Regions from separate parts of the Homo sapiens genome. Here all the other regions are linked to region 3. The links are contacts of gene promoters, found by promoter capture Hi-C in blood cells and fetal thymus (Javierre and others, 2016). All regions are on one chromosome and are shown on one strand. The core of a region is centred on a gene start or on the middle of the fragment in contact, and the rest is flanking DNA. Distances in the headings are between cores, read along the strand shown.

The links. Contacts are between HindIII fragments. The CHiCAGO score rates a contact against its expected background, and 5 or more counts as called.
Region 1: a contact is called between a fragment that was not itself captured here and the fragment with the promoter of WDR73 in region 3, in 1 of 17 cell types (fetal thymus). The highest score is 5.5, in fetal thymus.
Region 2: a fragment that was not itself captured here is called in contact with the fragment with the promoter of WDR73 in region 3 in 1 of 17 cell types (naive CD4 T cells); the score reaches 5.6 in naive CD4 T cells.
Region 4: a fragment that was not itself captured here is called in contact with the fragment with the promoter of WDR73 in region 3 in 1 of 17 cell types (M1 macrophages); the score reaches 5.2 in M1 macrophages.
Region 5: a fragment that was not itself captured here is called in contact with the fragment with the promoter of WDR73 in region 3 in 11 of 17 cell types (naive CD4 T cells, fetal thymus, neutrophils and 8 more); the score reaches 9.3 in naive CD4 T cells.
Region 6: a fragment that was not itself captured here is called in contact with the fragment with the promoter of WDR73 in region 3 in 11 of 17 cell types (total B cells, naive CD4 T cells, naive CD8 T cells and 8 more); the score reaches 11.5 in total B cells.
Region 7: a fragment that was not itself captured here is called in contact with the fragment with the promoter of WDR73 in region 3 in 3 of 17 cell types (naive CD4 T cells, naive B cells and total CD4 T cells); the score reaches 8.5 in naive CD4 T cells.

Annotation. Positions count from the first base shown.
Region 1 is chr15:85,144,255-85,147,435 of GRCh38, reverse strand. No RefSeq gene overlaps it. Among named protein-coding and RNA genes, the nearest start is that of PDE8A, 160 kb to the right of the region's middle. The HindIII fragment of the contact is 3,940 bases long and covers 1-3,181 here.
Region 2 is chr15:84,991,574-84,994,493 of GRCh38, reverse strand. The region is part of intron 1 of PDE8A (phosphodiesterase 8A); the gene reads right to left. Among named protein-coding and RNA genes, the nearest start is that of PDE8A, 11 kb to the right of the region's middle. RefSeq lists a silencer at 1,602-1,896. The HindIII fragment of the contact is 8,126 bases long and covers 1-2,920 here.
Region 3 is chr15:84,652,717-84,655,896 of GRCh38, reverse strand. It overlaps WDR73 (WD repeat domain 73), which reads left to right and starts at 1,614. Exons shown (of 8, transcript NM_032856.5): 1 at 1,614-1,663; 2 at 2,198-2,265; 3 at 3,095-3,180. The coding sequence starts at 1,623. NMB (neuromedin B) reads left to right here. Exons shown (of 3, transcript NM_021077.4): 3 at 488-765. The coding sequence ends at 523. RefSeq lists enhancers at 1,628-1,867, 1,294-2,261. The HindIII fragment of the contact is 10,475 bases long and covers 1-3,180 here.
Region 4 is chr15:85,085,252-85,088,040 of GRCh38, reverse strand. All of the region lies in intron 6 of PDE8A (phosphodiesterase 8A), which reads right to left. Among named protein-coding and RNA genes, the nearest start is that of PDE8A, 100 kb to the right of the region's middle. The HindIII fragment of the contact is 355 bases long and covers 1,344-1,698 here.
Region 5 is chr15:84,969,793-84,972,651 of GRCh38, reverse strand. It overlaps a transcript of SLC28A1 not described here. Among named protein-coding and RNA genes, the nearest start is that of PDE8A, 11 kb to the left of the region's middle. The HindIII fragment of the contact is 6,079 bases long and covers 1-2,859 here.
Region 6 is chr15:85,043,054-85,045,822 of GRCh38, reverse strand. The region is part of intron 1 of PDE8A (phosphodiesterase 8A); the gene reads right to left. Among named protein-coding and RNA genes, the nearest start is that of PDE8A, 63 kb to the right of the region's middle. RefSeq lists an enhancer at 1,287-1,366. The HindIII fragment of the contact is 641 bases long and covers 1,089-1,729 here.
Region 7 is chr15:85,017,720-85,020,684 of GRCh38, reverse strand. All of the region lies in intron 1 of PDE8A (phosphodiesterase 8A), which reads right to left. Among named protein-coding and RNA genes, the nearest start is that of PDE8A, 37 kb to the right of the region's middle. The HindIII fragment of the contact is 5,799 bases long and covers 1-2,965 here.

The DNA of each region.
Region 1 (3,181 bases), core at 589-3,088, 490 kb before region 3:
TATTTGAAAATTTCTTGAGGTTTCTTCTTTGGCCCATGTGTTAATTATGTGTGTTTTTTTGTTTTTGTTTTTGACACAGGGTCTCACTCTGTTGCCCAGGCTGGAATGCAGTGGTGCCATCATGACCGACTGCAGCCTTGACTTCCCAGGCTCAAGAGTTCCTCTCACCTCAGCCCCCTGAGTAGCTGGGACTACAGATGCATGCCATCATGCCTGGCTAATTTTTGTATTTTTTGCTGAGACAGGGTCCCACTGTGTTTCTCAGGCTAGTCTTGAACTCCTGGTCTCAGGTGATCCTCCTGCCTCGGCCTCCCAAAGTGCTGGGATTATAGATGTGAGCCATGGTGCCCGGCCCTAGAAGTATGTTCATTAATCTCCACATATTTTGAATATTTCCAATTGTCTTTCTGTTATTGATTACAGGTTAATTCCATTGTCTTCTGAGAGAAGATACTGTCTGATTTTTATTTTTAATTAATTAATTAGGAAACAGGGTTTTGCTCTGTTACCCAAGCTGGTGTGCAGTGGTGCAATCGTGGCTTCTTACAGTCTCGAACTCCTGGGCTCATGTGATTCTACTACCTCAGCCTCCCAAGTAGCTGGGACCACAGGTGTGTACCTCCACACCCAGTCATTTTTAGAATTTTTTGTAGAGACAGGGTCTCACCATGTTGCTCAAGCTGGTCTTGAACTCCTGGGCTCAAGTTGACCCTCCTACCTTGGCTTCCCAAAGTGCTGGTATTACAGGAATGAGCAACTGCACCTGGCCTAATTTGTTTTTTTTGTTTTTTGTTTTCTTTTCTTTTTTTTGAGACGGAGTCTCACTCTGTCACCCAGGCTGGAGTGCAGTGGCACCATCTCGGCTCACTGCAAGCTCTGCCTCCCGGGTTCTCACCATTCTCCTGCCTCAACCTCCCAAGTAGCTGGGATTACAGGTGCCCGCCACCACACCCAGCTAATTTTTTTGTATTTTTAGTAGGGACAGGGTTTCACCGTGTTAGCCAGGATGGTTTTGATCTCCTGACCTCGTGATCTGCCCGCCTCGGCCTCCCAAAGTGCTGGGTTTACAGGCGTGAGCCACTGCGCCTGGCCTAATTTCCTTTTTTAAATGTGTTAAAGTGTGTTTTATAACCCAGGATATGGTCTGTCTTGGTGAATGTTCCATGTGGGGTTGAGGAGAAAGGGTAATCTGCTGTTGTTGGCTGAACTAGTCTATAGATGTCAGTTATATCCAGTTGACTGATAGTGTTGTAGGATTCAACTATGTCCTTACTAAATTTTCTGCCAGCTGAATCTGTTTACTTCTGATAAAAGAGTGTTGCAATCTCCCAGTGTAATAGTGGATTAATCTTTTCTCCTTACAGTTCTATCAGTTTGGGGCTCATGTAGTTTGATATTATGTTGTTTGGTGTATACATGTTAGGGATTATTATGTCTTGGAGAAATGATCTCTTTATCATAATCTAATGACCTTCTTTATCCTTGATAACTTTCCTTGCTTTTAAGTCTCCTCTGTTTGCAATTAATGTAACTACTCCTTTCTTTTTTTTTTTTTGAGACAGAGTCTCGCTCTGTCATGAGGCTAGAGTGCTGTGGCGCGTTCTTGGCTCACTGCAACCTCTGCCTCCCAGGTTCAAGCGATTCTCCTGCCTTAGTCCCCCTGAGTAGCTGGGACTACAGGTGTGCAACACCACGCCCAGCTAATTTTTGTATTTTTAGTAGAGACAGGGTTTCACCATGTTGTCTAGGATGGTCTTGCTTTCTTTTGATTAGTGTTAGTGTGGTATATTTTCTCCATCCATTTAATCTATGTGTTTTTCATTTTTTGGGTTTTTTTTTTTTTTTTTTTTTTTTTGAGACAGAGTTTCGCTCTTGTTGCCCAGGCTGGAGTGCAATGGCATAATCTTGGTTCAACAACCTCTGCCTCCTGGGTTCAAGCGATTCTCCTGCCTCAGCCTCTCGAGTAGCTGGGATTACAGGCATGTGTCACCACACCCTGCTAATTTTGTACTTTTAGTAGAGACAGAGTTTTTCCATGTTGGTCAGGCTGGTCTCGAACTCCTGACCTCAGGTGATCCACCTGCCTCTACCTCCCAAAGTGATAGGATTACAGACCTGAGCCACCGTGCCCGGCCTGGCTTTTTTTTAAAAATGGGTGTGGCTCTCACTATGTTGCCCAGGCTGGTCTCAAACTCCTGGCCTCAAGTGATCCTCCCACCTTGGCCTCCCAAAGCCCTGGGACTACAGGCATGAGCCACCACATTTGGCCTCAAATATTTCTTCTGTTCTTTTCTTTCTGTATTTTCCCTCTGCTATTCTTATAACATGTATATTACAACTTTTTAGCTCCATAGTCCTTGGATATTTTGCTCAGTCCTATTCTCTTTAATTTTCAGTTTTGTAGGTTTCTATTTGACATGTCTTCAAGCTGAGAGATTCACTCCTAATTCATGTCCAGCCTATTAATGAGCCCATCAAAAGCACTTTTCATTCATTCGCAGTGTTTTTGCTATAAACAAAACAGTGCTTTCCTCCTCTCTTTGCTGGAAGTATGAGGGAATTTTCCTGTTATATTTACTGTGAGAACTGTGAAGCTCTTGGAGGTAAAATTCACGAAAGTGCAGGCGGGGGGCACCCCTTATAACTGGGTTCCCCAGGAGTTTTAATTCTTAGACTGTCCACATTGAGCCTCCACCAATTCTTCAATTACTGACAGGTTCTTCTACCCTGGCACTGGTTCCCATGGTGGTTTCCACTCATGAATCTCTGCTCCAGTAAGATATAATTTCCTGTATTTGCCTGCTGGTCTCTCCTATCTTAGGGGCAGCAGTTTGACTTGTATCCTCACCTTTCTTACAGATCTAGGAAGAGCTGTTGATTTTTCAGGCTGTTTAGCTTTTTACTTGTTAGAATGAAGTGGCGACTTTCAAGTTCCTTACATGCGGATCTGGAAAATAAGTCTCCTCATTCTTTTTTACAGTTGCATAGTATTCTGTTGTATGGTCATACCTGTAACTTGTTTACTTACTCTTCTTAAATGATAGACAATTTGTTTCCAGTCTTTTACTAATATAAGTAGTAAATAATAAATAATTTTGTAGACTATTATTTCCCACGTGTAAATATCTTTAGGCTAAAATCCTGGAAGTAGAATTGCCAGGTCACACTGCATGTACATTTG
Region 2 (2,920 bases), core at 128-2,627, 340 kb before region 3:
AAATACTAAAAAACAGTAAACAGCCACAAGGCAGCCTTCTGGAATGCTGGAAATGTTCTGTCTTGATTTGGCTGGTGATTACATGGGAGCATGAGGAAAATTCATCAAGCTGTACACTTAGGGATTTTGTACACCTTGGCTGATTACATTTATAACTCAATAAAAAGTGTTTTTAATACAGCAATCAGAATAGGACTTTAAAGTGAGTGTAATTAATATCCTCAAAGAGATAAGGAAGTATGCTGCAACCATAAAACATGAATAAGCAATTAAGAAAAAAGAGCAAACCATAGACTGAAGACAAAAACTCAAATTTAAAAACTCAGTGGGCTAAAGAGCTGAGTAGACCTTGAGGAATGAATTCGTGACTTAAAATATTGAGCTAAAAAATCCTCCCAGAAGATAGCACAGAGAGGGGAAGTAAAAGAAAAGTGAAGAGACACGGAGGACAGATCAAGATGCGTCTCAATCTATCTTTTGGAGGGAGCTGCAGAAGAGAAAATGAGAAAACTTAAGGGGACAACATTTAAATAAATAATAGTTAAATGTTTCCTAGAACTAAAAAACAAAACTGCTTAAAAAATATTTTTGTTTTTTGCTTTTTAAGAGACAGGGTCTCACTCTGTCACCCAGGTTGGAGTGCAGTGGCACAATCATAGCTCACTGCAACCTCAAACTCCCAGCCTCAAGCAATCCTCCCACCTCAGTCTAAGTAGCTGGGATTACAGGTGTGCACCACCATGCCCAGCTAATTTATTTATTATTATTTTTTTTTATAGAGAATGGGGGTCTTACTATGTTTCCCAAGCTGTTCTCAAACTCCTGGCCTCACGTGATTCTCCCATCTTGTCCTCCCAAAAGTGCTGGGATTTACAGGCATGAGCCACTACGCCCAGCCCAAAAAAGTTTTTAATTATAGTTATTTAAAGCAATCTACATGGATGGAAGGAAACACACCACCATTTTAAGAGACATTATCTCCTGACTGTGCAATTTAAGTGATTGTACAATTTAAGTGATCCTTGTTCTTTTTTTTTTTTTTTTTTTTTTTGAGATGGAGTCTCGCTCTGTCGCCCAGGCTGGACTGCAGTGGCGCGATTTCGGCTCACTACAAACTCTGCCTCCTGGGTTCATGCCATTCTCCTGCCTCAGCCTCCCAAGTAGCTGGGACTACAGGCACCTGCCACCACACCCGGCTAATTTTTTGTATTTTTAGAAGAGACGGGGTTTCACCGTGTTAGCCAGGATGGTCTTGATCTCCTGACCTTGTGATCCGCCCGCCTTGGCCTCCCAAAGTGCTGGGATTACAGGCATGAGCCACCACGCCCAGCCGATCCTTGTTCTTTTCTATATGTTTCAAGTTTTCTACAATGAATATGACTTTTACAATCAGGAAAAGTAAAAGTTTATTTTTATAAGATGAACTCAGAACCAAAAGACAAGAAAGGTTTTTTAAAAACTCCCTAAATTCGCTTTCCTGTGACTTCTCCCTTATGCTATTACAGTGAACCTGTTTCTGTAAGTGGTCACCACAAACTTGAACAAGTCATTCAATCTCTGAATTTCTGCTTCTTTAGGCCTTAAACAGGGAAAATAAAATCCCTCCTTTCCACCTCCCCATGGTTTGGGGAACATCAAATGAGATGAGGTACAAAAATAGCATTTGGTAAACCATAAAGCACTGTACAAATTGTGGCATGTTATCACAGTCCTTCTAAGCTGGTAAACCCCAACCTCTGAGTCACCCTCCACTCTCCGCCCTTTCACTCACCAAGTCCAATTTGTCACTAGTCAGTTTTTCCTTCTCTCATTCCCTCCTCTCCCAAACTACTGCACTAAGTTAGTCATACCTGGTCATACCTTGTGCCTGAACCACTGCAATAGGTCCTGCATAGTGCCCCACCTCTAGCTGTCCCTCACCCCACCTACTGCAATTTTTGCCTGAAACCTAATCTTCATGAAACATGTTTATCCTTTGACTACCCCGCTGAAAATGAAATGCCTTTGGGAGTTCTCTGAGGTTTATAGGATGGACTTCAAACTCCTCAACCTGGCTTTTAGACCTCCCGTCCTATCTCTGGTCAGCCTCCTCATAATTGGAACATGCACCCAACCCCCGTACCCTTCCTTCCCCTTATCCAGAGATATATTTTCCACTTATCCACATCCTCCCAGTCTTTTAAGCCCAGGTCAAACCTCTCCCTCCTTTCCTCTTTCTATACCTTATGACCAATCCAGACCAAGCTCTTGCCTCCACAATCCATCCCCCAAGGTGCCATCATCACTTCCAGGTCAGAGACCTACCCCACCTTTCCAGAAAGGACTAATTGTTCCCTGAGAGCAGGGCCTGTTATCCTCCTACAGCCTCTATATTAGGCACTCAAATTAACATGCTAAACATTTAAGTCCTTAAAATAAACTTTATTTGCCTGAACTGATTTTATGGTAAGTTTTAACACCTATGTGTGTATTACTATATATTGTTTAGCTATTAATCTTTTTTTTGTTGTTAGAGATGGGGTCTTGCTATGTTGTCCAGGCTGATCTCAAACTCCTGGCCTCAAGTAATCCTCCTGCCTCGGCCTCCCAAAGTGCTGGGATTACAGGTGTGAGCCACCACTCCCAGCCTATCAATCTTTAAATAAAAAGAATCATAACTTACAGATTTTTTGATGGCTTCTTCTTTCTCTCCACTGAGATTTATCAAAGTTAATATCTAAAACTATAATCCATTTTTCACAGCTGTGAAGTATTCCTTTCTTTGAACATATCATAACTTTTTTATCCATTATGTTGTTAATGGACATTTGGGTTTTACAGGAAAGTTTGGAATTAAAAGTAATGCTGCTCTGAAAATTCTCGTACATGTTTCCAGTAAAGATATATAAGAGTTTCTAGAAGAGAAGCTGCTATGTCACAG
Region 3 (3,180 bases), core at 365-2,864:
CTGAGGCACAGAACCAGCAGCCCCTGAGGACCTCAGATGTAAGGCCTAGGAGCTTGGGCTGGCTGAGTCTGAAGGGAAACAATGTCACCTCTAATGCCCTTGGTTTTGAAGCTCTGACACATGCAGACCAACTAGAGAATCTCAGAAGCAGCAGTGCCTACGTCTGGGGCTTCAGAGTGAGGTCTGGGGCAGAGCTGGGGTGGGGGAGTGAGGACGCTGACACTAGCCCAGCACCAAGCACTGTATTTGGATTTTCTTCCACGATCTTCTTTGACTGTCATGACCACCCTGGGTGGTTGGGGCTGTGTTCTGAGAAAACTACTGCCCCGACCCCTCCAAGGCAATTCAGGGTGCTCTGGGGCCTGCCTCAGCTGACAGCCTGCTGGTGCCCACCTCTGCAGACATCTGGCACTTAGGAATGGCAGGATGCCCCTATCTTTATCAGGAGCCCCTCCCTGGCTCAATTCTTCTGTATGTTTCTCTTCAGTACAGGAGGCTGCTGGTACAAATACTGCAGAAATGACACCAATAATGGGGCAGACACAACAGCGTGGCTTAGATTGTGCCCACCCAGGGAAGGTGCTGAATGGGACCCTGTTGATGGCCCCATCTGGATGTAAATCCTGAGCTCAAATCTCTGTTACTCCATTACTGTGATTTCTGGCTGGGTCACCAGAAATATCGCTGATGCAGACACAGATTATGTTCCTGCTGTATTTCCTGCTTCCCTGTTGAATTGGTGAATAAAACCTTGCTCTTTACATACAATGCCTGGTCCTCTCCTTTCACCCGTCTTTTAGGGGATGGGAGGAAAAGGGGGCTGGAGGGCAGAGTGTTCAGTGAGATGGGGCTGGCTCAAAAAGTCCAGAATACCCCATGCCATGGCACCAGCCTGGCACTGACTCTGGCCTCCTACCCATTCATTCAGCAAGCAAATAACGCCTGTTGCATGCCAGGCTTCGTGCCAGGCGCGGGGTTCTACTCTCATCTCTGCCACCTACTGGCGCAGGCAAGTGTCACTAGTTTCCTCGCTAGTAAAAGGGGGCTGCAGACACTACACTGCCGGGCTTTACTCAATACCCCCGCCGGACTTGGAGGGGAGCGCCGAGTTGGGATCCAGACCCTGCCGGCCGCTTCCTCTCTTCTCTGGCCGTCAGAAGGGTTGCCAGCGTTAGCAAATAAAAATACTGGACACCCAGTTAAATTCGAATTTCAGATAAACAATAATTTTATCTAATAAAATGTACCAAATATTGCATGAACATACTCGTAAGAAAGAAATTATTCACCGTTTTTCTGAAATTCGAATTTAACCGGGCGGTCCTGTATTATTTCTGGCCTTGGAGCATTCATTGCCCCTCTCTTGGGCTGCAAACACCTGGCCCTAAAACGGGCGATCATTTGGTCCTCAGGTCCTGCTTGGAGCTGACAGCGGGAAAGTCCCGATTTCAGGTCACTTTTCCCGGAGCTTTCGCGGAGAAAACCCGTAACCCACCCATGCCGGGCCGCAGCTCAGCCTGTTAACCCCGCCCCTAACGGGAGGCCCTGCCCACATCTCGCGAGAGCCGCGCGGCCCCCGAAGGCTCGCAGGCGGAAGTGAGACGCCGGAAGCGGTCGTTGCCATGGATCCTGGGGACGACTGGCTGGTGGAATCCTTGCGCTTGTAAATCGTACGGGGCTGGGACATGGGAGCTGGGCCTGGAGCTTGCCTGGCGGGCGGATGGGTGTGGGTGGAGGCACGTTGGGGATCCTGGTGCAGAGTGGGCCAGCTGTGGCCTCGGGGCTCGCCACCGTGGAGGACTCCGCCTGGGCCTAGGCCCCCATCTCTAGGAAATGGCTCCTTCCTGCGTGCGCGCGTTGTGAGATTACTAGTAAGAGCCGCGCTTGTGAAGACGCAGTGCCCAGTTAGTTTGCGCCAGCCTCTGAGTTCAGCTCAGAACACAGATGATCTCATTGATTCCTCACGTCAACCTTGGGAAATCTGGGTACCCTGGGACGTCCACACATGAGGACCGAGGCTCAGGGACATCAAGGGACTGGCCTGGTCCCAGAAACAGGGAGTAAAATGGGAAGTAAACTCAGTCCCACGTCTGCCTGACTCCAGAGTTTGGGCCACTGAACCATGCGGCTGCCATCTTGGAGTTCTTTGAGCTGTGAAGTGCTGTGCATCGTGTGATTCTGTGTCCCTTTTGTGCAGGTACCAGGATTTCTATGCATTCGACCTGTCAGGAGCCACTCGAGTCCTTGAATGGATTGATGACAAAGGTGGTATACCTTTCTAGCCCTGAAGGAGAGGGAATCTCACTCCTGAGCTGGGTTTCAGGAGCTAAGCCTAGAGGGACCCAACCCACTCTTCTGGGCACCTGAGAGTCACTTGTAGCAATTTGATGCCCCATCAGCACTAATATTCCTCTTATTAAGATCTCTGACCGGGAGCAGTGGTTCACGCCTGTAATCCCAGCACTTTGGGAGGCCGAGGCAGGCGGATCACCTGAGGTCAGGAGTTCGAGACCAGTCTGGCCAACATGGTGAAACCCCGTCTCTACTGAAAATACAAAAATTAGCCGGACGAGGTGGTGCACACCTGTGTACCAGCAGCTACTGGGGAGGCTGAGGCAGGAGAATCACTTGAACCCAGGAGGTGGAGGTTGCAGTGAGCTGAGATCACGACACTGTATTCCAGCGTGGCTAACAAAAAAAGTCTTCAGGCTGGGCACTTCAGGAGGCTGAGGCAGCGGGCAGATTGCTTGATCCCAGGAATTTGAGACTAACCTAAGCAAGGAAACCCTGTCTCTACAAAAAATACAAAAATTAGCCGAGCATGGTGGCTCACGCCTATAATCCCAGCTACTCTGAAGGCTGTGGTGGGAGGATCACTTGAGCCTGGCAGGTTGAGGCTGCAGTGAGCTGTGATCGGACCACTGCACTCCAGCCTGGCTGACACAGCGAGACCTTGTCTGAAAAAGACACAACCAGGTACTCAATTCCTCCATACAAGGCTGCACAGTGAAGGAATGTATCCTTACTTCGGGGGATTGCATGGTCTGCAATCTTTCTAACAATTTGTGACAGCTACCTCTGCTTCTTTTTCCAGGAGTCTTTGTTGCTGGCTATGAAAGCCTGAAAAAGAATGAAATTCTTCATCTGAAATTACCTCTCAGACTTTCTGTAAAGGAAAAC
Region 4 (2,789 bases), core at 272-2,771, 430 kb before region 3:
TTCTAAAATTGTGATGACTGAAGCACAACTCTATGAATATACTAAAATCCTTTGACTATACCTTAATAAGGCTGTTTAAAAATAATAAGATCAAATAACCTGAAATCCCAATACCCAGACGTCTCAACATTCTATTTTATAGAAAAAAATCTAATTATTTTCAATAAGCATTGAAAAATGTTCTAGGCATTAACTTGTACAAATGCATATGTAATATGCATACAAAAACAAGATCATACTCTACAGTTTTATAATCTGCTTTTCTCACTGGCACACTATACATTAATCTTTCCATATCAATAATTTTCATTCTTTATCATCACTTTAAATAACTATATAATATTCTAAGATTATATTATGATTTATTCAATAAATCCCCTATCACTAGACATTTAGGTTGCTTCCAGGTTTTTTCCTTGTATAAGTAATCTCCCAAAGAATGATTTTAAGATTCTCTGGCCTCAGAAGATGAAAAAAAAGAAAACTGCCTGCTTATAAAGTGCAGAGATACTACTAAGTAAACTCTAAAAATAACAATGCTGGCCAGGCACGGTGGATCACACCTGTAATGCCAGCACTCTGGGAGGCAGAAGTAGGCAGATCGCTTGAGTCCAGGTGTTCAAGACCAGCTGGGCAACATGGCAAAACCCTGTCTCTACAAAAAATAAAAAATTAGCTGGCCTGGTGGTATACATCTGTAGTCCTAGCTACTTGAGAAGCTGAGGTGGGAGGACTGCTTGAGCCCAAGAGGTCAAGGATGCAGTGAGCAGTGATCACACAACTGCACTCCAGCCCAGGCAACAGAGTGAGACCCTGTCTCTAAATAAGTAAATAAAAAAAACAATGCCTTTACATTATTGCTGGTATTACTAAACTGTCTCACTAAAGACAATAGCTTAGCCAATAAAAATTAGCTCATTTTTAGCATGTAAAAAAAACCAGGAGATAATATGTAAATTTATAGCTCAATAAAGTTGTTATTAAAAAAAAAAAAAAAAGCAAAAAACATGCTGGGCATGGTGGCTCACACCTGTAATCCTAGCACTAGTCAGAGTTTGAGACCGGCCTGACCAAAATGGTGAAACCCCGTATCTACTAAAAAATACAATAACAACAAAAAATTAGCCAGACCTGGTGGCACATACCTCTGTAATACCAGCTACTTGGGAGGCTGAGGCAGGAGAATCGCTTGAACCTGGGAGGTGAAGGTTGCAGTGAGCAGAGATCATGCCACTGCACTCCAGCCTGGGCAACGGAGTGAGACTCTATCTCAAAAAATAAAAAAATAAAAAATAAAAAAAGCAAAAAACAGTAAGAAGTTCTCACCTCCAATATAACAAGCTTGGCGGAGATGGATCTGTGAGAAGCCCTACTGGGTTTTATCATACTTTTTTTTAACTTTCGCAGATACGGTAAATAAAAAAATGTTAAATCATTTGCATGTCTTTATTAGTGAGGTTGAACATCTTTTCACATTTATTGGCCATTAATATCTCTTGTGAACCACTTGAACATGTCTTTTAATATTTTTCTAATTTTTAATTGATCATTTTTCAATTGATTAATCAAAGCTCTTCATGTATTTATGAGGATATTAACCTAATGTCTGTCCTATATGTTACAAACATATTTTTCCCAGTTAGTCATTTGTCTAAATTTTGAACATTATTTAAGGTTTATTTTAACTGTAGATAAGCTTAACATTTTTATGTTGTCTAATCTGATTATCTTCCTTTATAAAATGTGGCTTTTATAAGTGTTAGTTTATAATGACTTCGTCATCCAATTATGTATGTCCACTTTTATTTTTTAGTACTTACGTAGCCCTACTTTTTCACATTTAAGTCTTTAATTCATTGGAGTTCATTTTGCGGGTAGGACATGAGATTGGAACGTAGCTTAACTTTCTTTCCAGCTAGTCAACCAACTATCACAACTCTAGTCACTGAAAAGTCCACTTTTTCCCGTGTTGATTTAAAATGCCATGTAATCATATGCTAAATTCTTTTTTTTTTTTTTTTACTTTTTGAGATGGAGTTTTGCTCTTGTTGCCCAGGCTGGAGTGCAGTGGCTCGATCTCAGCTCACTGCAACCTTCGCCTCCCGGGTTCCAGTGATTATCCTGCCTCAGCCTCCCAAGTAGCTGGGATGACAGGCATGCGCCACCACGCCCAGCTAATTTTTTGTATTTTTTTTAGTAGAGACGGGGTTTCATCATGTTGGCCAGGCTGGTCTCGAACTCCTGACCTCAGGTGATCCACCAACCTCAGCCTCCCAAAGTGCAGAGATTACAGGCGTGAGCCACCCTGCCCAGCCGATCATCTACTAAATTCTTAAATATATCCAAGTCTGTTTTTTTTTTTTTTGAGACAGAGTCTTGCTCTTGTTGCCCAGGCTGGAGTGCAATGGCACGATCTCAGCTCACTGCAACCTCTCCTGTCTCAGCCTCCTGAGTAGCTGGGATTACAGGTGCTCACCACCATGCCCGGCTAATTTTAGTATTTTTAATAGAGACAGGGTTTCGCCATGTTGGCCAGGCTTGTCTCGAACTCCTGACCTTGTGATCCGCCCGCCTCAGTCTCCCAAAGTGGTGGGATTACAGGCATGAGCCACCGTGCCCGGCCTGTTTCTGGTTTTTATATTCTAGTTTACCAATCTAGCAGTAACACCCCTGCTTGTTACAGCTTTTTAGTGCATTTTAGTATCTGAAAGAACAAGACTCTATTTCTCCCAATTCTCTAGCCTCACATTTCCTTTCCCTTTATATTTTTATATCTCCCTGTATAATGG
Region 5 (2,859 bases), core at 115-2,614, 320 kb before region 3:
GGTACAGTGGGACCCTGATGCAAGGGGGCCTAGGAGCTTGTTGCAAAGGCTGTGGCTAGAAGTATTGAGATTATTGTGAAGGTGATGATGATAATGATGAAGATGGTAATGAACACAATTGCAGCTGACATTTGTTTAGCCCCTTCTAAGATGCTGGACACTGCTAAAGTCCTTTATAATAATTTTCTTCTTGAGCCTTTACAACAATACTCTGAAATGGGTATATCATCATTCCTATTTTATAGATGAGTAAACTAGGTCTTACACCAGGGAGGTGACTTGCCCATGGTCACAGGGTGAAGACCCAAACCCAGGCCTCTCTGAGTCTGAAATCTATGCTATTGATCATCATCTCACATGTTTCTGTTCCACATATGATCTGTTGGGGCCTCAATCCATTTCTTTCCATCCCTTTCCTCCAACCAATTGGTTTTTAATTGGGTCTGGCCAGTGGAAGTACTGAAGAGATGAGAAGGCTGGAGGAAGGGAAAAGCCATTCTGGCTCTGGCAGTGCCAGTGGTTCTGGCTGGATTAGGGGCTGGATTATTGTGTAGGGTGGGGGCAGCCCCTCTAGCAGCTCAGCAATGACATGTATGGGTGCCTGGAATAAAGCAGCTTCCTAATCCCTGGGAAACATCCATGTCTTAGTCCATTTGTATTGCTGTAAAAGAATACCTGAAGCTGGCTAATTTATAAAGAAAAGAGGGCTGGGTGTGGTGGCTCATGCCTGTAATCCCAGCACTTTGGGAAGCTGAGGCGGGATGATTTTGAGCCCAGAAGTTCGACACCAGCCTGGGCAACATGATGAAACCCCGTCTCTATAAAAATACAAAAATTAGCCGGGTATGGAGGCACGTGCCTGGCGTCCCAGCTACTTGAGGGGCTGAAGTGGGAGGATCGCTTGAGCCTGGGAGGTGGAGGTTGCAGTGAGCTGAGATCGTGCCAGTGTACTCCAGCCTGGGTGACAGAGTGACACCCTGTCAAAAAGAAAAGAGAAGAACAAGGGAGGGGAGGGGAGGGGTGGGGTATATTTGGTGTACATTCTGCAGGCTGTACAAGAAGCATGGCACCAGCATCTGGTTCTGGTGAGGGCCACAGGCTGCTTCCTCTCATGGTGGAAGGGGAAGGAGAACCGGTGTGTGCAGATCACATGGTGAGAGAGGGAGTAAAAGAGATGGGGATGGACCAGGCTCTTTTTAACCAGCTCTTGTGAGAACACTCTAATAAAGCAAGAGCTCGCTCATTGAGGATGAGGATGGCACCAACACATTCATGAGGGATCTTTCCCTGTGACTAAAACACCTCCTTTTCAGTCCCACCTCCAACACTGGGGATCAAATTTTGACATGAGGTTTGAGGGGGACAAACATTCAGACTATGGCACCCCTTATCATATTTTTGTTCTCTAGCCCTTTCAACAGCTTTGTAACCAATCCTCTTCATTAAAACTTGAAATATCTCTGTGGTTTCCATTTTCCTGGCTGGCCACTGACTGATACAGTCTCATTGACAGGGATGCCTGATAGGGGTTGCTACTGTCATTTGCAGATGGTATCACTGCCAGCTGCTGCCAGAATAGTTCGCTGAGATCAACAAACAGCAGATAAGGCAGTGATGGCATTTGAACCTGCAGCCGGCCAGGAGAGCACTTGCCCACTGTGCCCTTGAACTTCTCATTGGCATTCCACTGGGGCTGGAGGCATAACAGACGTCAAAGGCTTGAGTCAGCTCTGAAAATTACATCTCAGACTGGCCATGGACTTAAGGTGATTTTATATTTTTTTGTTTTGTTTTGTTTTTTGTTTTTGTTTTTTTTTGTAGATATGAGGTCTCACCATGTTGCTCAGGCTGGTCTAAAACTCCTGGGTTCAAGCAATCCTCCTGCCTCTGCCTCCCAAAGTGTTGGGATTATAGATGTGAGCCATTGTGCCCGACCCTTAAGATGATTTTAGAAGGGAAAGTTTTCACAGAGAATCAGATTCTTAGTTCCATGCTCGAGTTGCTCTAGGCCATAAGCAAAAGGTGAGAACCAAATTTACCCCCGACTGCCACCAAGTCCTGTGGCACTTGACTTGAGGAAATCTCGCTCAAGCTCAGGTCCCCATCTGTGAGGGGAGGAGCTGAGCCGTAAAAGACACAGTTCGTTTTCTGTCCAACCAACATCTATTCCCCCCTCACCTACTTCCCACTTTTCTTCCTGTCCTGTATAGACCCTTCCCATGCACAAAGGGTCAAGGTTGATTGGTTTCAACCAACTGTGGTCACTCCTTTCCACATGTGAGAGATTGGTTAGTCACGGGCATGTGACGCAACCATGGCCAATGAGATGTATGGGGTGGTCTTGGAGGATGGTGTGGAGAGGGGCTTCTGAGAAAGTCTCCTTCCTTCTAAAAAAGAGACTCGAGAAAGATACCTAACCATTTTCTGCCTCTGGAATGACTGGGTGAGAAAGCAATACCTGGAGCTGTTTCAGCCATCCATGAGCAAAGCTGCTAGCACCTGGGGATGGCAGAATGGAAAGATGGAAAGAACTTGCGTCCCTGTCCCAAGTGTAATCACAGAGCTGCTGAAATTCACCAACCCTAGAACCATCCAACATTTGAACTCTTTGCTACTTGGTGTAATACATCTTTGTTGTTTAAGCTATTTCTAGTTAGGTCCTCTGTCACTTGCAGCCAGAAGCATTGTACTTTACATATTAGGCCATTAGTCAAATCCCTCTGTCCTTATTACATGTAACATTTTGTGATTCAACTTCTTCTGTTTTCAAAGAAAGAAATCAAGGCTCGACGAGAGAGAAATAATTGAAGGCTATGCCATACATGTGTGGCATAGCCAGGACCCCTGGGATCCTGCATT
Region 6 (2,769 bases), core at 160-2,659, 390 kb before region 3:
GACAAAGAGAAATAATGTGATCAAAGGGACACAGCCTGGAAAGAGTCAGGAGATACCAGTTCTTAGGTGTGGAAGAGTCTAAATCCAGACACTTGTGGACCACCTATTACTGTAAGACAAGTGCAGTGCTAGATACTAGGAGTACAAAGAACCTAATCCTGTCCCTTGGGTAGCAGGAGAGGAAAATGCAAATAACAACATGGTCCAGTCAGTTTTAATAGAAAAAAGTATCTAACACGTAAATACTTTGGATCCAATCATATTTAAGTCCAATTTAGTTCTTACCTTATGAGCAAGGTAAGCTCATTAACTCCATTTTATTGATGAAGAAGCTGACACTCAGAGAAGTATGGTCAAATAGTTGGTAAGCAGTAGTTGCAGGAATGGGACCCAGTTCTGTCTGAATTTAATTCCTGTGATCTTTTCATGCTCTATTAGGAAAAGTCTAAAATAACCTGGCCGTAATCTGTATCTAGCTGGAAAAAGATCAAGAAACTGGAAAACAGCATTTATCCTTCTGACAGATCTTTACTGAACATCCACTATGTGCCAAATGGTCTCCTAGGCATTGAGGATTCAATAGACAGCAAGACAGACAATATCTCTGATTAACAACAGGGAAAGATGTGATGGAGAGTAACTGAATCAGAGTCAAGGAAGGCCCCTCTGAGGCAGCAATGCAGGAGGTGAGATCTGAATGACAGGAAGTAGCCAACCATGCAAGAGGTGGAGGAAGGAGTACCAGGCAGAGGAACAGCTAGTGCACAGGACCTACAGTGGAAATAAGGTGGGACACTGGAGGAAACAAAGAGGAAGAAGGTCAAGAGATGAGGTTACAGCTAAGCAGGGGCCATACAAAGAAGGTCATGAGATGAAGTTACAGCTAAGCAGGGGTCATACGATGCAGAGTTTTCTAAGGCAGGACAAGACATTTGAATTTTATTCTAAATTTCATGAAAAGCCGCTTAAAGGTTTTATACAAAGAAGTGACATAATCTGATTCTTCTTTCTAAAAAAGATGTCTTTGGCTGCCAATGGAGAATGAACTACGGGAGGATGAGAGTAGAGGCAAGGCCAATAAGGAAGCTTCTGCAGTAGTCCAAACAAGAGAAGATGGTGGCTTGGCCTGGGGCCGGCCACAGAGATAAACAGATTTAGGATGTGTTTTGGAGAGAGTGATCAGGACTTGCTGATGGACAGGACACTGATTCCATCACTAAGATCCACTGATTCCTAGACCAGAGTTCTGATTATCTGATTTGCAGTTTTCTATCATTGTGGCATGGAAATTTGGGGCTCTGCAAGGCATCTTAGTAGCAACTGATGTGCATCTGCTTGGTCCTTTCCAGATCCACCCACAAGATGGCACCAAGGTCTACTCTTGAGGCAAAGTTCTCAGCTGCTTTCCCTGGTTCTTCTCCCAGACTCTTTATCTGTCCCCCACTGTCATAGTCTCTTTCCTCCCCCTACCTGTTCCTGATTTTCCCATCAGTCGATTTAAACAGTAAATATTTACTGTGAACCTTGTGTATGTTACCCTGACTGATTGCAAATTCTAGTTATATACTGGGGTGAAATCATGCACATCCTTTTTTCCCAAACCCGTAGTGTTGGGCAAAAAATGATATCCAGATTAAATAAGCTATTTCAAGTAGTTACCACAATGCCTGACAATGAGTAAATGCCCAATAAATTCTAAATATCTACAGCAAATATTTTCCAAGAAGCTTTTGCTATGAAATTATAATTCTATAATGCACATACATATTACAAGGCATTTTTTTAAACTGTATTTTTCCAAAGCACTATTTCTTTCAGAACACACTGGCTGGGTGTGGTGCCTCACGCCTGTAATCCCAGCACTTTGGGAGGCCAAGGTGGGTGGATCACAAGGTCAGGAGTTCGAGACCAGCCTGGCCAATATGGTGAAACCCTGTCTCTACTAAAAATACCAAAAATTAGCTTGGCGTGGTGGTGGGCACCTGTAGTCCCAGCTACTCAGGAGGCTGAGGCAGGAGAATCACCTGAACCCGGGAGGCAGAGGTTGCAGTGTGCCAAGATCACACGACTGCACTCCAGCCTGGGCGACAGAGTAAGACCCTGCCTCAAAAAAACAAACAAACAAACAAACAAACAAACAAAAAACCATTAATTTCATGATACCTTGAAATACTGTACAAAGTAGGATCTAGTTCTTAAATATCGTATTAACGTATTAAATACAGGGGACAAATGTAAGTTTTCCCGAAATGTTAAAATTACCTTTGAAAGTAAAACTAGTAAGAATTAACCCATAGAAAAATGAGAATAGTCAACTATAGGAGAGATAACCCAATCCGAGATCTTCTTCAAACATGTCACTGAGATCTGAGGATCCTCAAATCCAATGTGGCAATCTGAGGTATAAAATCATGGAGGCCAGACTAGAATCTACCTCTTCCCTCCACCCTCCCAAAAGACAAAACTGATCACTTGCCTATTCATCTGTCAGAATGAAAAGGGGGGTCTACAGGCTGCCCCAGGGAGCAGGGAGCCAAAGGTTGAGAACTCAGTGCTATTTATTTAACTCCCTTCTAAAGAAAAACTGAATTCAGCAGGCATGGGTGATATGGATACCAAATCAATTGATTAACAAATTAGCAGCATGCCTCTCTCTCAGATGAATCTATTTCAGGAATATTTACATTTGTCAATCATGTTTCTGTAACACACTGTATATTCAGACAGAGAGCCTTGTCTGGAGGTTCTACAGCTGTTTGCCTGCATACC
Region 7 (2,965 bases), core at 278-2,777, 360 kb before region 3:
CTTTGTACTTTTTTTGGTAAATTTTCTCTAAGTCTAAAATTATTTCAAAATTAAAAAAACTTTTTGTTGTTGTTTTGTTTGTTTGTTTTGAGACACAGTCTCGCTCAGGCTAGAGTGCAGTGGTACAATTTTGGCTCACTGCAACCTCCACCTCCCGTGTTCAAGCACTTCCCGTGCCTCAGCCTGCCAAGTAGCTGGGATTACAGGCACGCGCCACCATGCCCGGCTAACTTTTGTATTTTTAGTAGAGACAGGGTTTCGCCGTGTTGGCCAGGCTGGTCTCAAACTCCTGACCTCAGGTAATCCACCCGCCTTGGCTTCCCAAAGTGCTGGGATTACAGGCATGAGCCACTGCGCCGGGCCCTTGTTGTTTTCTTAATGCCCAGAGCTGTGAGAAGTATGAGGAAAAACTCGCCAAAACCACAACTGTGACTGAAGGACTTCAAAACACTACTCTCCTTCTTTGGCAGACAGATCACATAAAAAATAAACACAGACAGAGAATTGAGAAGATTAGTAATCTTGTGCCTAAGAAAGAATACCTATTATTTGCCAATGACCATGATCATTTAAATAAAGGGGCAACCATAAACCTCCTTCTTTGACTCATTTCTGACTTTACTGGTGGCTCCATTTGTAATGTAGATCACCAACCACCCGGCCTGCAAAGTGCCAGAAGAGAGACTAAGAAGAGAATCCTAGTCACAGGAAGCCAAAAAAAAAAAAAAAAAAAAAAAAAAACCAAAAAAAAACTCCCCCAAAGTTCTCCAGAGACCCAAGAGCCTTTTCGAAACATACACACTGGCCACGCATAGTGGCTCATATGCCTGTAATTCCAGCACTTTGTGAGGCCAAGGTGGGCAGATCACTTGAGGTCAGGAGTTTGAGACCAGCCTGGCCAACATAGTGAAACCTCGTCTCTACTAAAAATACAAAAATTAGCCAGGTGTGGTGGTGGGTGCCTGTAGTCCCAGCTACTTGGGAGGCTGAGGCAGGAGGATCACTTGAACCTGGGAGGTAGAGGTTGCAGAGCCAAGATCATGCCATTGCACACCAGCCTGGGTGACAAGAGCGAAACTCTGACTCCAAAACAAAACAAAAAAAACCCCACAAAAATAATGAATAGTATTAAGAAGCCAAGCACAGTGCTCCTGTAATGCCAGCTATTCGGTAGGGGCTGACATACGTGGATCGTTTGAGCCCAGGAGTTCTAGTCCAGCCTGGGCAACACAGCGAGACCCCATTTCTTTAAAATAAAATTTTAAAAGTGTTAAGAACACTCATAAACCCATCACTCAAATCAAAAATTTTTTAAATGTTGATACATTTGCTATGTCTATCTTTTTGACTGTAGTATTTTCAAGAAAATCCCTCACATTTTTCACCCCTAAATACATCTATGTGTGTATGCAGATTTTTCTACTCAACCACAATTCCATTTTCACACCTAACAAAATTTAAAAATAACCTCTTAATATCATCCATCACTCATATACATTTCCCTTACAGAAGAGTTTTTAACTCCTAAGTTCCTCACACCAAAACCTTTTACCCCAGCAAGTTCACAATAGTGAACTGCCCTTACCACCAAAGGGCAACCTCTTTAGAGATGGAAGCAGGGAGGCAGCAAGGCTTGACCAACTACACCTCCCAAGTAACTATACTGCTAGGAGAGTCTATAAAAAAGGACAATTTCTACATGATGCAAAAATACCAAAATCCATTTTTAAAACAGAGGAAAAATATTTTCATTATACAAAGAGTAAATAACCTTAATGTAAATGGTACTTACACCCCAAAGTAAAAATGATCCAAGAGCATTAAAAATGGCAAAGGTGGATGTATCAATTCCAAAAAATACATTTAAAATATTCTTACTAGTAATCAAATAAGTACATATTCATATAACAACTTGCTATTTGTCATCCAAATTAGCAAAGATTTTTTTGAAAAAAGAATTCATACTGGTAAAAATGTGGCTCTGCAAGTGTGTAAAATGGAGAACAATTTGTCATTATGTTCCAAAATCCTTACTCTATTTCCAGGAATTATCCTAAAGAAAGCATAAGATATATACACATAATTATAGAAACAAGCATTTCATGGCAATGTTACTTATTCCTAATACTAAAAAAAAGATGATGTGAGGGTTAACCATCTACCCAATAGTAAGAGACTGGTTAAATAGATCATGGTTTGCCCCTAAGATGGATACTAGAGATTGACGTTGCTTAAAGTGTGGCCCGTGGACCAACTGTTAATAATCCACAATGAAATAAAGAGTTTAAGACAGAATGCAGATCAACCACAAAAATTTTTTAACAACAAAAAATCCTCAAGGAAGAAATCAGTAAATGAGTGTGGTGACTTACATCTGGCATAGACTCATCTTGTCCTGAAACAGTAAGAAACAGTTTATCTACATGACTATTTTAATTAGTACCACTACAGACTCTACTTCCAAAATATATCCCAAGTTTGCCTATATCCCTCTACATCTACTGCTACCATGAAATCCAAACTACTTCTCTGAAGAGCTGCAAAAGTCCTGTAGTTAGCCTACTGCCACTTCTGTTGCTCTACAATCTACTTTTCACTTGATAGCCAAAGTGGTTGTTTTGAAACGCTCATCAAACCATACTTATTCTGGATATTATAACTACAGAATTGAGAGTAGAAATAATCACAATATCTACCACCACCATCCTGGGCATATCTCATCCATACTTTGAAAAGAAGCAAAAAACACAAAAACTTTCTCCACATAATTTCCTCCCACTATTGCTTTTTTTTTTTTGAGACGGAGTTTCGCTCCTGTTGCTCAGGCTGGAGTGCAATGGCGCGATCTCGGCTCACTGCAACCTCTGTCTCCCAGGTTCAAATAATTCCCCTGCCTCAGCCTCCCTAGTAGCTGGGATTACAGGTGCCCACCACCACACCCGGCTAATATTTATATTTTTAGTAG